Linked DNA regions of Homo sapiens: regions 1 and 3 are each linked to region 2. Evidence: promoter capture Hi-C in human tissues and cell types (Jung and others, 2019). All regions are on one chromosome and are shown on one strand. The core of a region is centred on a gene start or on the middle of the fragment in contact, and the rest is flanking DNA. Distances in the headings are between cores, read along the strand shown. Region 1 overlaps KIF6 (kinesin family member 6). Region 2 holds the start of MOCS1 (molybdenum cofactor synthesis 1). Region 3 overlaps KIF6 (kinesin family member 6).

Region 1 (3,523 bases), core at 624-3,123, 540 kb after region 2:
ATATTATGGCCAAAGTCCCTCCTGGCTTTACTGCTGGAAATTAATCCACTCCCATCAAAGCAAGTCCCCAGACTGTACCCAGAAGTCTCTTCAAGCACTGCCTCCAAGCACTGCTCTGGAGCGCCTGCCTGAGGCCCTTCCCCTCTGTCTTCCTTATCTGCTCTCGTGCTATAGGGGCTGCTGCCTGCTGGGCACGCTATCCTCTAATGGTGCCATTGCTGGTGGCTGCTACCAAGCCTCAAAGACCCTGTGGCCCTGGCGATGGCATCTGACTAGGTGAGGCAAACTTGAACAAGGTACTGTTGGAGGCTTAAGCTTAAAAGAAATGCTTCTTGGAGAGCAGCTGAAAGCTCCTTCTGGTTTCTTGGAGGGCTTTGACCCATAGGCTTCCAGCCTCATTCATGGAGGCTTCCACACACCCTCAGGCAGGCCTGCTCCAAGAAAAACCTGCAGTGGACACAGGGCCCAACAGCCTATTTGTATGTTCACTTTCTCCAGAGCACTGCCTGGACCCATAGCTCTCACAAGATAGTTTATAGCAGTTTGTTTTCCAAAACTCTGGGCCATTCAGTCTTCAATGACACAAGCATGTCATCAGTCAAGGTGGGACTCCCCCCAGTGACCAACAACTTGTTCCATCTTTCCTCAAAAGCAGCGTTTCTCAATGGGGGTGCCATTGGCCTGATGAGACAGGCGGTTCTTTAGTCGCAGGACCCGGCTCAGCTCACTCAGTACAAAAGTGTCTTTCCCTCATTGTTGTGACCACTATTGAGTACCTGGATGAAAGTCTCCATTCACATGTGAGGTGGGGACAAGATCAGACCTACATATTCATCCCACCGTTGACTGCCCACTGTTCCCAAAGAGCTACAGCAGGTGCTTGGACAAGGACACATCCACATCATCTGTATTAGTCAGGGTTCTCCAGAAAAACAGAGCCAAAAGGATGTGCATAGATACAGAGAGAGAGAGATTTATTTTGAGGCATTGGCTCATGAGATTGTAGGGGCTGGCAAGTTCAACTCGAACAGGGCAAGCCTATAAGCTGGAGAGCCAAAGAAGAGTTGATGTTGCAGGTCAAGTCCAAAGGCAGTCTGGAGGCACAATTCATTCTGCTCTGGAGGACTTCAGTCTTTTTTCTCTTAAGGCCTTTAACTGACTGGGTGAGGCCCACTCCCATTATGGATGGTAATCTATTTTTCTTGAAGGCTACTGATTTAAACATTAACCACATCTAAAAGCAACCTCTAGACTAGTGTTTAAGCAAACATCTGAGCACTGTAGCCTATACGCTTTGACATATAAAACTAACCATCACAACATCCAAAGTACAAGCATTACTTTTTAGGCATAGATAAACTGTATGAAGATATTTTTTAATCTCTAGCTCTGCAAACCTATAGTTCTGCTAAAGAAGCACCCGATCTGTGTTTCTGAAGACAGAATACTAAATAGAACATCTAACTCTTACTTAGAAGCACCTACCTGCATTTGGGTTATTTCATTTTTAGAGCTTCCCCCAAAATAATGGTGTATCTTTACCTTACATGTACAAACCTCAAATGCCCCATTAAAATGATTAGCTTGTCTCCAACAGAGCCATGTTTTTCTCAAAGATAATATCCAGACTTTCTCATAGAAGGCAAAGGCTGCTCCTTATTCTGGAAATTTTACCTTCCCAAGTTCAAAGAATGTGAAGGTTTGGTCTCCTCCTGGCACCTGTTAGACCCTGGAGCAGCTGATGATCAATATGCTCCATTAGCTGAAATGAAATCAACTTCTGCTTCGATGAGGATTAGAAACAAGTGCTGTGCTCTGGGATGTACATTATCACATCTCCCACATTATAGGAAACAGTTATCCACCTGTCCCTAGCCACGAAGGAACTGAACATCCCTGTGATAGAAAAAGCCATAATTAAGGATTACGCCTTTATGTGAAAAGCAAGATTAAGTTTACAAGTAAACCTATAAAAGTCCCTACAAATATTTTTATATTCACCAAAACAAAACATTAAAACCAATACACTAAAGAATCATAATAACATTTCATTCATCATAATGGGCTCTGTATATTTAGCCTCCATTTACTATCCCTTGGACGCAGAAAATTTTTCAGGATCTCTCTCCCCTAAAGATTCAACCTGAAGCTTGTAAATTATTTTTATCTTTGCATATTGTGGCAATTCCCTCTCCATCTCTGTTTTTCTTCTCTCTGGGTATTCACTGCCTTCCTGATATTAGCCCTTGGAATTGTTGACTCCCCAGAGACACAGCACCCAAAATCGTGCCATCAGCCCTTCTTACACACCTTCTGATTTCCCGCTCCCCCTGCTCACTCATTTTGTTGGCTGAAGAAGTGTAGTTCTCGGGCCATGTGTACTGCAGCTTCCCTCATCTCCCAAAGCTTCACTGCAAAAACCTCTCATTTGGTTATGTTGTCTGCTTTGCCTCTTTTTTCTAGTCCTAACTCCCTAGATTTCCTTATTATGCATTATCCCCAAAATGACCAGCTTATATCCACCAGGACTGAGATCGGTAAGAAACAGAGCCATGCGTACTGGAATTTCAGGCAGGCAGAACTCAAGTTCAGGGAGGGGGAAACGATGTTCTTCCTGAAATATGTCACTCCTGAAAAGCACCGTCTGTAAAATGGTGGGATGTCCATCTCCACCTCTCTCCTTCCTCTTTCCTCTTTGAAAATATTTAGCCTCAGAGGAAACAAAAGGAGAAAGAGCTCTGGTGTTATTTTTCTGGAATAAAATAAAGTAAAATAACGGGATGGGGATAGAAATCATCCCAGGCTCTGAAAACAGAACCATTACCACCAGCATTTCAAGCAAGCTTTTTAAAAAGTCATTTACTTCCAATTACAGAAATCAATCATATTTGACTATAACGGAATATGGAAGACCCCATTACTAACTAAAGTGATGGTGAATTTGAGGGTAAATAACTGATCAGAAGGGAGAAGGTTTAGTAAAGATAAACTAAATTTGTAAAAAGTTGGAGTCAGCGAGTGCTGAAAGGTCACAGCTCTGCTTTGTGAAACCCTGATTTGGACAATTGCAAGGACATGTGACTGTCCCCCCTTCCTCCCCACCGAGGCGGAGAGAGGCACTTCAGCAAAGTCTGCTGGGCCCACGATAACTTGTTAATTTAGGCCTGAAAGATGCTTTTCTAAAAGGGAACAGGGGAAAATACAGATGTCCTGCCATATTTGAATGTGATCAAGACCTTAGAAACAATTGCAATAGGTTAGCTTGCTTCAATCCTCCATGCAGTGTTATTTGTAATCAGAGCCACCCACCTCATAATCATTACTTTTTATTACTACCACCACCATGATGACCACCACTCATTGTGCACCTACAATGTGCCAGGCACTGTGCTGGGGGCTTTATGTACCTTGGGTCTAATTCTTGCAGCAACCTTGCAAGGTTGGTGTTATCACCCTATTTTAATGAAGAAATTGAGGCTCAAAGGGATTAAGTAGCCTAGGGTCACAGTAGGAGGTGGCAGTG
Region 2 (3,928 bases), core at 203-2,702:
TTCCCTGAGGTTGAGTCCTCTCTAGAAGGCTCTTCAAGCCTCATACATACAAAAAAAAAAAAAGTTTTTATCCTTCTCTCCCCCATACCCAGTTTTCCTGATAAATCCAGACATATCTAAACTTAGCAGTGGACAGAGCTTGAACAGTCCTCAGTTGGTCTTCAGGCCCCTTGCAAACAGACCTCTGGCATACTTGTCTCATCAGTTTCAAACACACCCCAGATACACTTTCATCCCCTACAATATATTTTCTGAATTTTGAGTATCATTGTGAGAAATTCACATTGAATCTAAGGCTAAAATCATCTCAGCTTTTCTGACAGTCCCACTGCACTTGTAAAAGTCAGTTATATTCAGTTATTTTTTCCTCTCCCACTATTCGGTCAATTCTTCAAGATCAGGAGCTATATTCCCACTTCCTAAGCATGCACTTGGCAGCTGTATGTTCCAGCCGGTGTTTTATTCTTGCAATTCCACAGGGACAGGGTTTTGGATACAACAGGCTGGTTTGAGCATAATTATTCTTAGTACATAAGCTCATTATTGTGTGTGTTATCCAAAATCTTAAAGGACTACAGCACTCTGCTTTTTATAGAGAGGAAGAGGCACACCCCACCATTCCTAACACATACTGAATCTTGACTGAATGACTGTAGAAAGCAGATTGCCCTGGGTTTGAAACCCACTATCAGCTGTGTGACTTCGAGAAAATTACCTGGTCTCTCTAAGCCTCAATGTCCTCAGTTGCAAAAAGGACATTCTATTCATACCAGGATTGTTTTAAATAACATTTAGCATGGTGCTTGGTGTATAAGAAGCATTTCAAAAATGTTGTCCACTCATTCTGTGACTTCTCATATACTCTTGCCTTCTCCACGAAAAAAAAAAAAAAAAAAAAGATTGTTAATATCCTTTTGGGGCACAACTGGAGAAGTGTATCTTGAAAGACCTAACTGACCGTTTTACAACCACAATCTGCACTATGGTGCACTGAGTGATGTGAGTCATGCAAGTGTAGGCTAAATCTTTTTATTTAGAATGTTGATATTTCACGGACTTCTGAAAATTTATTACGATTTTTTGAAATATTACATTAAAAAATTACTTACTTTGATAACCGCAGTTTACCTGGCACCCTCTTAAATTTTGCATCCAAGGCAGTGCCTCATTCGTTTGGCCCTTGTCCTGTCCTGCCTACTGTCACACCACGACCTAAATCTGAGACTAGAGCAGCCAGAAAAACTGGAAGGAAAAGAACCCCGTTCCTTACCTGAGTTTACCCTTCTGCCCTAGAGCGCTACCCCGGCCCAGGAAAGTGGGCACAGGGAGCGTACTACAGCTCCCACAAGGCCACGCGGGACTGCGTCCTCGCCTATTGGCTGCGCGGGTCCCGCCCTCCCCCTGCCCCTCCCCGCCCTTGCTGGGATGACCCCGGGGGCGAGTGCCCGGCCAGTGTGCTCCCGAAGCGGGCTGCGGTTCCGCTCGTATCAGGCTTCATGGCGGCGCGGCCACTGTCCCGGATGCTGCGGCGGCTTCTGAGGTCCAGCGCCCGGAGCTGCAGCTCAGGGGCTCCGGTGACCCAGCCCTGCCCCGGGGAGTCCGCGCGAGCTGCCTCGGAGGTGAGCCCACCCCGCCTGCGTCCACAGCTTCCCGGGGCAGGAGTGGCCCCGGCACACTGCCCTTTTCCCCCAGTAGCTCCCGGCCTATCTGCTTGACCGCTTCTGGGAGGGACCCGTTGGCACTCCTCAGTGGAGCGATGTTCTCCAGATGGACCGCCCGGTCTCACCCGCTAGCCCAGCGGGAGAGGTTCCTGGGAGTCCCGCTTCAGAACCTCCCTGCCCCCCAGCCACGCCACCCCTTCTAGCCCTGAGCTTGGCCAGAAATTCGGGTAAGCAGAGGACTGGGACTTTGGGTCCAGTGAGGTGTCTTAGTACCTTTCAGCCTTGCCTTGCACCCACCCTCTTTCTTAAACATTTTCCCTCCCTATCCCAAGAGCTGAGAGATCAGGTGTCCCTGTGACACCTGCTTCATAGTGCGACTGACTAAACATGTCACCTCGGTGTCACCAACGATGAGTTGTTACTGTAGTCCCAGGGCTCTGTAACCCATCCTTTGCTGACTCTCCTTGTCTTTTTTATTAACCTTGGGAGGGTTCAGCCTTATCCTAGAGCAGAACAGGGCAGGACGTGGCTTCTTCCAGGTGAGAAATTAATTCCTCTGTCTTTAGGGTTTTGGGTAAGATCCCTCAGTCCTTGCCAGCACCCCTCAGAGTGTTTCAAGTCATTAAAAGTTTTAGGTTTTGGTTGTTCTTCTGCTCAGGTGGTTAGGGAATAATTTGGGGGGAAAAGTACCTCTTTTCATTTAGTGAAACCTCTTTTCGGTACCTATCTAGGCGTTTTTTTCCCCGTCTCCCAGAACTAGGCTTCCTGTCCTGGGATTCATAAGATCACTGCTCCCTCCTCCCCTATATTGCTCAATGACTTCCGCCAAATTTGCTTTCCCCAAATCTAAGCCCCTCTGGGATCCTCAGATAAGCAGGCCCATGGTTGGGAAGTGAAGACTTTTTAGTATCCTCAAACTCTGAACATCATTGAGGAAGAGATAGGAAAGCAAAGATGGCTGAGAGATCTTTAAAGAATTCAAGAAAAGGGACTTTTCTTCTCCAGCCCCCCACCCCCTAGTTTATTTTGTACTGGTCTTTCATGAGAGAACCTGTGTTGAGTGACTCACATGTGGAAGCATTTAGTCCTCACTAAGCCATGTGAGGTGAGTAGAGTTTGTATGTTCAGATGAGGGGGCTAATCTAAGTTAACTTTCCTCCAGTCGCAGAGCTGTAGAGGGCAGGAACTCAACTCTAATGCTTTTCCGTCCTCCCTGTGTGGAGGCCAGGGAGAGAGCCTGCTCCTATCCATCCCTTTACACTGTGAAGGGAGGGGTAATGTGGCAGAAAGGAGAACATAGACTCTGGGGCAGCCCCATCCCTTATTAGGGATTCACCAAGTCCCCTTACCTCTCAGTGTCTGTTTTCTCATCTGCAAAGTAAGAATAAAAGTGTCTACTTCATAGGATGTCACAGGGATTAAAAGAGTTAACGTATGTTAACGTATATACTTAGAACAAAGCTTAGCCCATGTAAGTGCTGTGTTATGTAAATGTTGGTGGTAATTACTATTATCCATGCTGCCACTGGCACATGCTCTGTCCTGTGAGTCCCCTCCCATCTGGACTTGTTGGATAGCTATTCTGTCAACTCACATTGAATCCTGGACATCTCATTAGGATTATCTTCAGCAGACTGGGAGTTCCTGAGGGCTGGGTGCACCTCCGCCTTTCTATCCCCACAAGCGCTTAACGCAGGGTTGTGCAGGCAGTGGATTCAGCCAATAATTGTAGCTGCTTGAAACTTAACTAGTGAGGAGTCACGTGGCATAGTAGACCACACTGGACAGGGAGTCCCATGTTTTCACCCGCCAGTTTCGCCTCCAATTTCACCTGGCTCCTGGGGCTGTCACTTCCCTTTGCTTCATGTTTATAAAATGAGAGGACTGGGCCAGCCCATCATAAGATGGGGGAGGGCACAGAAACTTGTCTTGAGGAGACTCTAAGGGGAGGTGAGTCTGGAAATGGATATGTTCTGCTCATCTCCAGAGCTTGCCAGTTGGGGTGGGGACACCTTGAACCCCTTCTTGCAGGGTCTGTCTCCCCCAACACGCCCACACAGGGCTCTGGTAGTCTGGTTTGGGATGGGAGGTGCTTGGAGAGCTAGGATGGAAAGCCACTGGGCATTGTTTGTGTGGCAGGATGAGGGTGTGAGGGAGAGAAGTGAGGTTAAGTGGGAGCTGGCTGTGAGGATTGCGGAAAGGGGGCTGTGGGCTGAGTCCAAGAACAGGTCGAGTAGCTTCTAGCTATGGAAAGGAGTAGTGTGTGG
Region 3 (3,645 bases), core at 992-3,491, 510 kb after region 2:
CCTCTGCCAGGCCCCCCAGACACATCTGGGCACCGCCAAGGCTGGGGGACTCCATCCCAGGCTTGTCAGGGATTCTCTGGGCAGCACTGCGGTGGAAAGTCCTTCTTCTGCTTATGTTGTCTTCCTTTTCTATCTGTACTCTGGTTTCCTCCAGCATTGATGTGAATTTCAGTGTGAATTTCAGCAGTTTTGCACCCTTGCTCTTGTATTTTCCTTATTCCGAAGAGTCTAAAGCTTCCAGAAGCCTATGGAACAGGAAATGGGAGGAGTCACTCGTTGAGCAACGTGTGACTGTCAGATCCTATGAATCCTAGGTACTAGGGATGGACAGAGCAGTGATGAAATGATCATAGGCCCTCCCTTGGCAGAATGGAGAGTTGAAGATGGTCCTCATCTTCCAAATGGCCTGCAGCAAATGTCGCCTTATGCCTGCCCAGCAGCAGAGGCCATATGAGCCCACAGAGCCCAGCACAGTGACCTGTGCATCATGTAAATGTCTGAATTGCATCAAGTGGAACTGTACTTCTCCCTGGAAGGTGACAGGCCGTCGCTGAGGAGAGAACATACATAATCTACGATGAGCCTGAACAGCCTTAATAAGGGAGCCAGGGGCGGAGTCCCAAGAAACTAACATTGAGAAAAACTTTAGTCCCCTTCCCTGGAAACCTCCTGTCCACAGTCCCAGGCCAAGCAGACAGATTTGGAAAATAGCAATGACATAATTCACACTTCTTTTCCATCCAACACAGAGCAGTCGTGGCACTCTGGCCTTTGCTTTTGTTGTTCCCCTGCCTGGAATGCCCTCCTCTGCTCACTTCCTCCAACACAATCCCAGTCAACTAAAGTGTTCAAGGATGAAACAATAGGATATCTGGGATTTGCCGGGATATTAGAGATGGGGAAGTGAGAAGAGAAGAGTGCGGAGGAGGAGGGGAAATAGTTGAAATAAAACTGGACAATTAATAAAATGTGATACTGGGTATGTTAGGGTTCATTCTACTATCCTGTGTATATTTGGAAATTTTCATAATAAAACATTTTCTAAAAACTCCTGTGGATCCACAAAACCCAGGTCACTCCCACCTTGTACATGAAGCTTTCCTGACAGCTCTCCGCTCACTCGTGGACAGGCCACTCCCTAGTCAAACGCTAATGGCATGACTAGCCCCGCCAAGGTACAGCCATTTAATTCAGCTATCTATTAGGTGCTTGCTTTCATAGGCTTTCAATTGTCTCTTTAACTTCATGGCAGAAAGGAGAGGAGGGAAAGCAACTAACATTTCATGAGGGCCCACTATGTATAGGGACTGAACTACATGTTCTCACATAGGCCATGTCCTGTCTGCTTCTCTAGCGCAAAGTTGGCTCATCGTGGGTGTCTCAAACATAGGCCAGAAACATAAAGGAATCACTCACTAAACATTAGCACAGCAATCTAGTAGACTAGCATGAAGCCATCAAAGGTATGCATCTCATAATACAGGGAAGGACTTATGTTACAATGCTAAGTGAAAAAAAAACATCGGGGCACAAAATCATATCTGTATTATGATCCCAACCCTATAAAAACTGGCTCTATAAAAGACGGGGTGGATACGTGTATCCAATGTGCTTATTTCTGGGTAGAGGAGTACTTGAGAATTTTTTTCTTGTTTTTGTATTTTCAAAATCTGGCTTAATAACGGTATATAACAGGAATCAGCAAACTTCTTCTATAAAGGGTGAGGTAGAAAATATTTTCAGCCCTGTAGGCCACGCAGTCTCTGTCACATCTAGTCGACTCTGTCTTGTAGCGTGAAAGCAGCCACAGAAAATGCGTCAGTGAATAGGAGTGGCGGTGTTCCAGGGCAACTTTATTTACAGAAACAGGCAGCAGGCCAGATTTGTCTCATAACCAGCCATAGTTTTACAACCTCTGATATATTATTTTATAATCAGAAAAAAGTTATGTAAGTATATATTCTTTGGTTATAAGATCTTGGTATCATAATCAATAGAACACAGCACAGAAACCTTACAGCCAGGCTTTATTCTGATATCTTTGCATCATGAAATAATATAAATTAAAAGTCATAAATGAGAGACTATGAGAATACAAATTCTGTGCTGGATAGAGTAAAAATTAACAATACCTATAATTAATACCAATTTTCTCTCTATTTTTAAGCCTAATATATTTTACTTATTTAGATTTTTCTTTTGTGTCTTTCAATAAAGTTTCATCATATTTTAGTGACCTCTAAGAAATCTATTATTTTTAAAACATCTTGTAGGATGAACAGAAAAACTACAATTTTCATTTTTTTCCCCTCCAGATTTTCTGAAGCCAAGGCCCTGGGAGAAAGTATAAATGAAGCAAGAAGTAAAATTGGTAAGCAGATGATATTCTGTGAGCCTCTTTCAGAAACCATTTTCCTGGTGAAAATCAGGTCATGATGTGCCTCCAAATGGCCATGAAGCCCCAAATGGCCAGTTTCAGGAGAGCCCCTGCCAAGGAAGCTGCTTTGAGAGCCTTCCCTAGGAAGTGTGTGATCCCTCCCACCACCCAGCAGGAAAAGCACTTTCTTTTGTCTAGAACTTGAACTTTTCATCCTCAGGCAGACCTGAGCTCCAGCATCCCAATCAGAGAGTTGTGCTTTTCCCTGGTGTTTTTCAGCAGTAGCTCAGCTAATCATAACTTCACGGTTACAGTGAGACGTCATTTCGTATTTCAAGTATGGGGAAACACTCTTACACCTCCCAAAGCTTCTGCTTAGCATATTTGGCACAGGTATGATATTTTAGCATCAGTCAATAAGCTGGTGGAAGGATAAGAAGCAAAAACAAGCCATCGTGCCTTCCCAAGGTGGAGGCTGCCACGGAGGGCTCCCCACTTAGGTGAGTACCCCTGCAAAGGTGAAGTTAAGGCAAGAGGCAACTCAGTAAAATGTGCCTCGAATTCTCTTTTTTTTTTTTTTTTTTTTTTGAGACAGAGTCTCACTCTGTTGCCCAGGCTGGAGTGCAGTGGCGTGATCTCAGCTCACTGCAACCTCCACCTCCCAGGTTCAAGTGATTCTCCTGCCTCAGCTTCCCATGTGACTGGGACTATGGGTGCATGCCATCACACCCAGCTAATTTTTGTGATTTTAGTAGAGATGGGGTTTCACCACGTTGGCTAGGCTGGTCTCGAACTCCTGACCTCAAGTGATCCACCCACCTCGGCCTCCCAAAGTGCTGGGACTACAGGTGGTGAGCCACCACACCCAGCCTCAAATCCTTTTAAAAGTAAGAGGACAATGTTTTTTTCATCCCAAACTAAAAGATACCACAGAGACCCATCTCCCAGGCCCAGGGCAGCTTCACAGAGGCGATCCCTGTGCCTCACCTCTGTGCTGGAGAAGGCAGCAGTTACTGGCTCACAGCTGGCCCGCTGGGTCTCTCTTACTACCCCCTTTTCTCCGCCTACAAGTGAGGACAGGACAGAAGCCACTGTGAGTGCCCCCTTTAATTTTTCTAACAGAATATAAAAATCACGATAGCCTCAGTTTGTCTCGGTCGGTAAACAGGAGCCCCACAGTCCCCTCTGTGGCCTGAGACAGAAGGGGCTGAGGCAGCCAGACCCAGAGACACAGCCAACAGCCACACTCAGAATCCTTGTGTCTCAGG

The links. Contacts are between HindIII fragments. The study calls those that stand out against the background at their distance.
Region 1: a fragment that was not itself captured here is called in contact with the fragment with the promoter of MOCS1 in region 2 in 2 of the 25 tissues and cell types used here (dorsolateral prefrontal cortex and pancreas).
Region 3: a fragment that was not itself captured here is called in contact with the fragment with the promoter of MOCS1 in region 2 in 1 of the 25 tissues and cell types used here (spleen).

What each region holds. Positions count from the first base shown.
Region 1 is chr6:39,396,608-39,400,130 of GRCh38, reverse strand. The region is part of intron 15 of KIF6 (kinesin family member 6); the gene reads left to right. Among named protein-coding and RNA genes, the nearest start is that of KCNK16, 76 kb to the right of the region's middle. The HindIII fragment of the contact is 3,972 bases long and covers 1-3,523 here.
Region 2 is chr6:39,931,986-39,935,913 of GRCh38, reverse strand. MOCS1 (molybdenum cofactor synthesis 1) reads left to right here and starts at 1,452. Exons shown (of 11, transcript NM_001358530.2): 1 at 1,452-1,619. The coding sequence starts at 1,497. It overlaps LOC102723789 (a long non-coding RNA gene), which reads right to left and starts at 1,345. Exons shown (of 6, transcript XR_001744112.1): 1 at 1,271-1,345. The HindIII fragment of the contact is 11,059 bases long and covers 1-3,928 here.
Region 3 is chr6:39,418,674-39,422,318 of GRCh38, reverse strand. KIF6 (kinesin family member 6) reads left to right here. Exons shown (of 23, transcript NM_145027.6): 15 at 2,316-2,371. Among named protein-coding and RNA genes, the nearest start is that of KCNK16, 98 kb to the right of the region's middle. The HindIII fragment of the contact is 3,152 bases long and covers 666-3,645 here.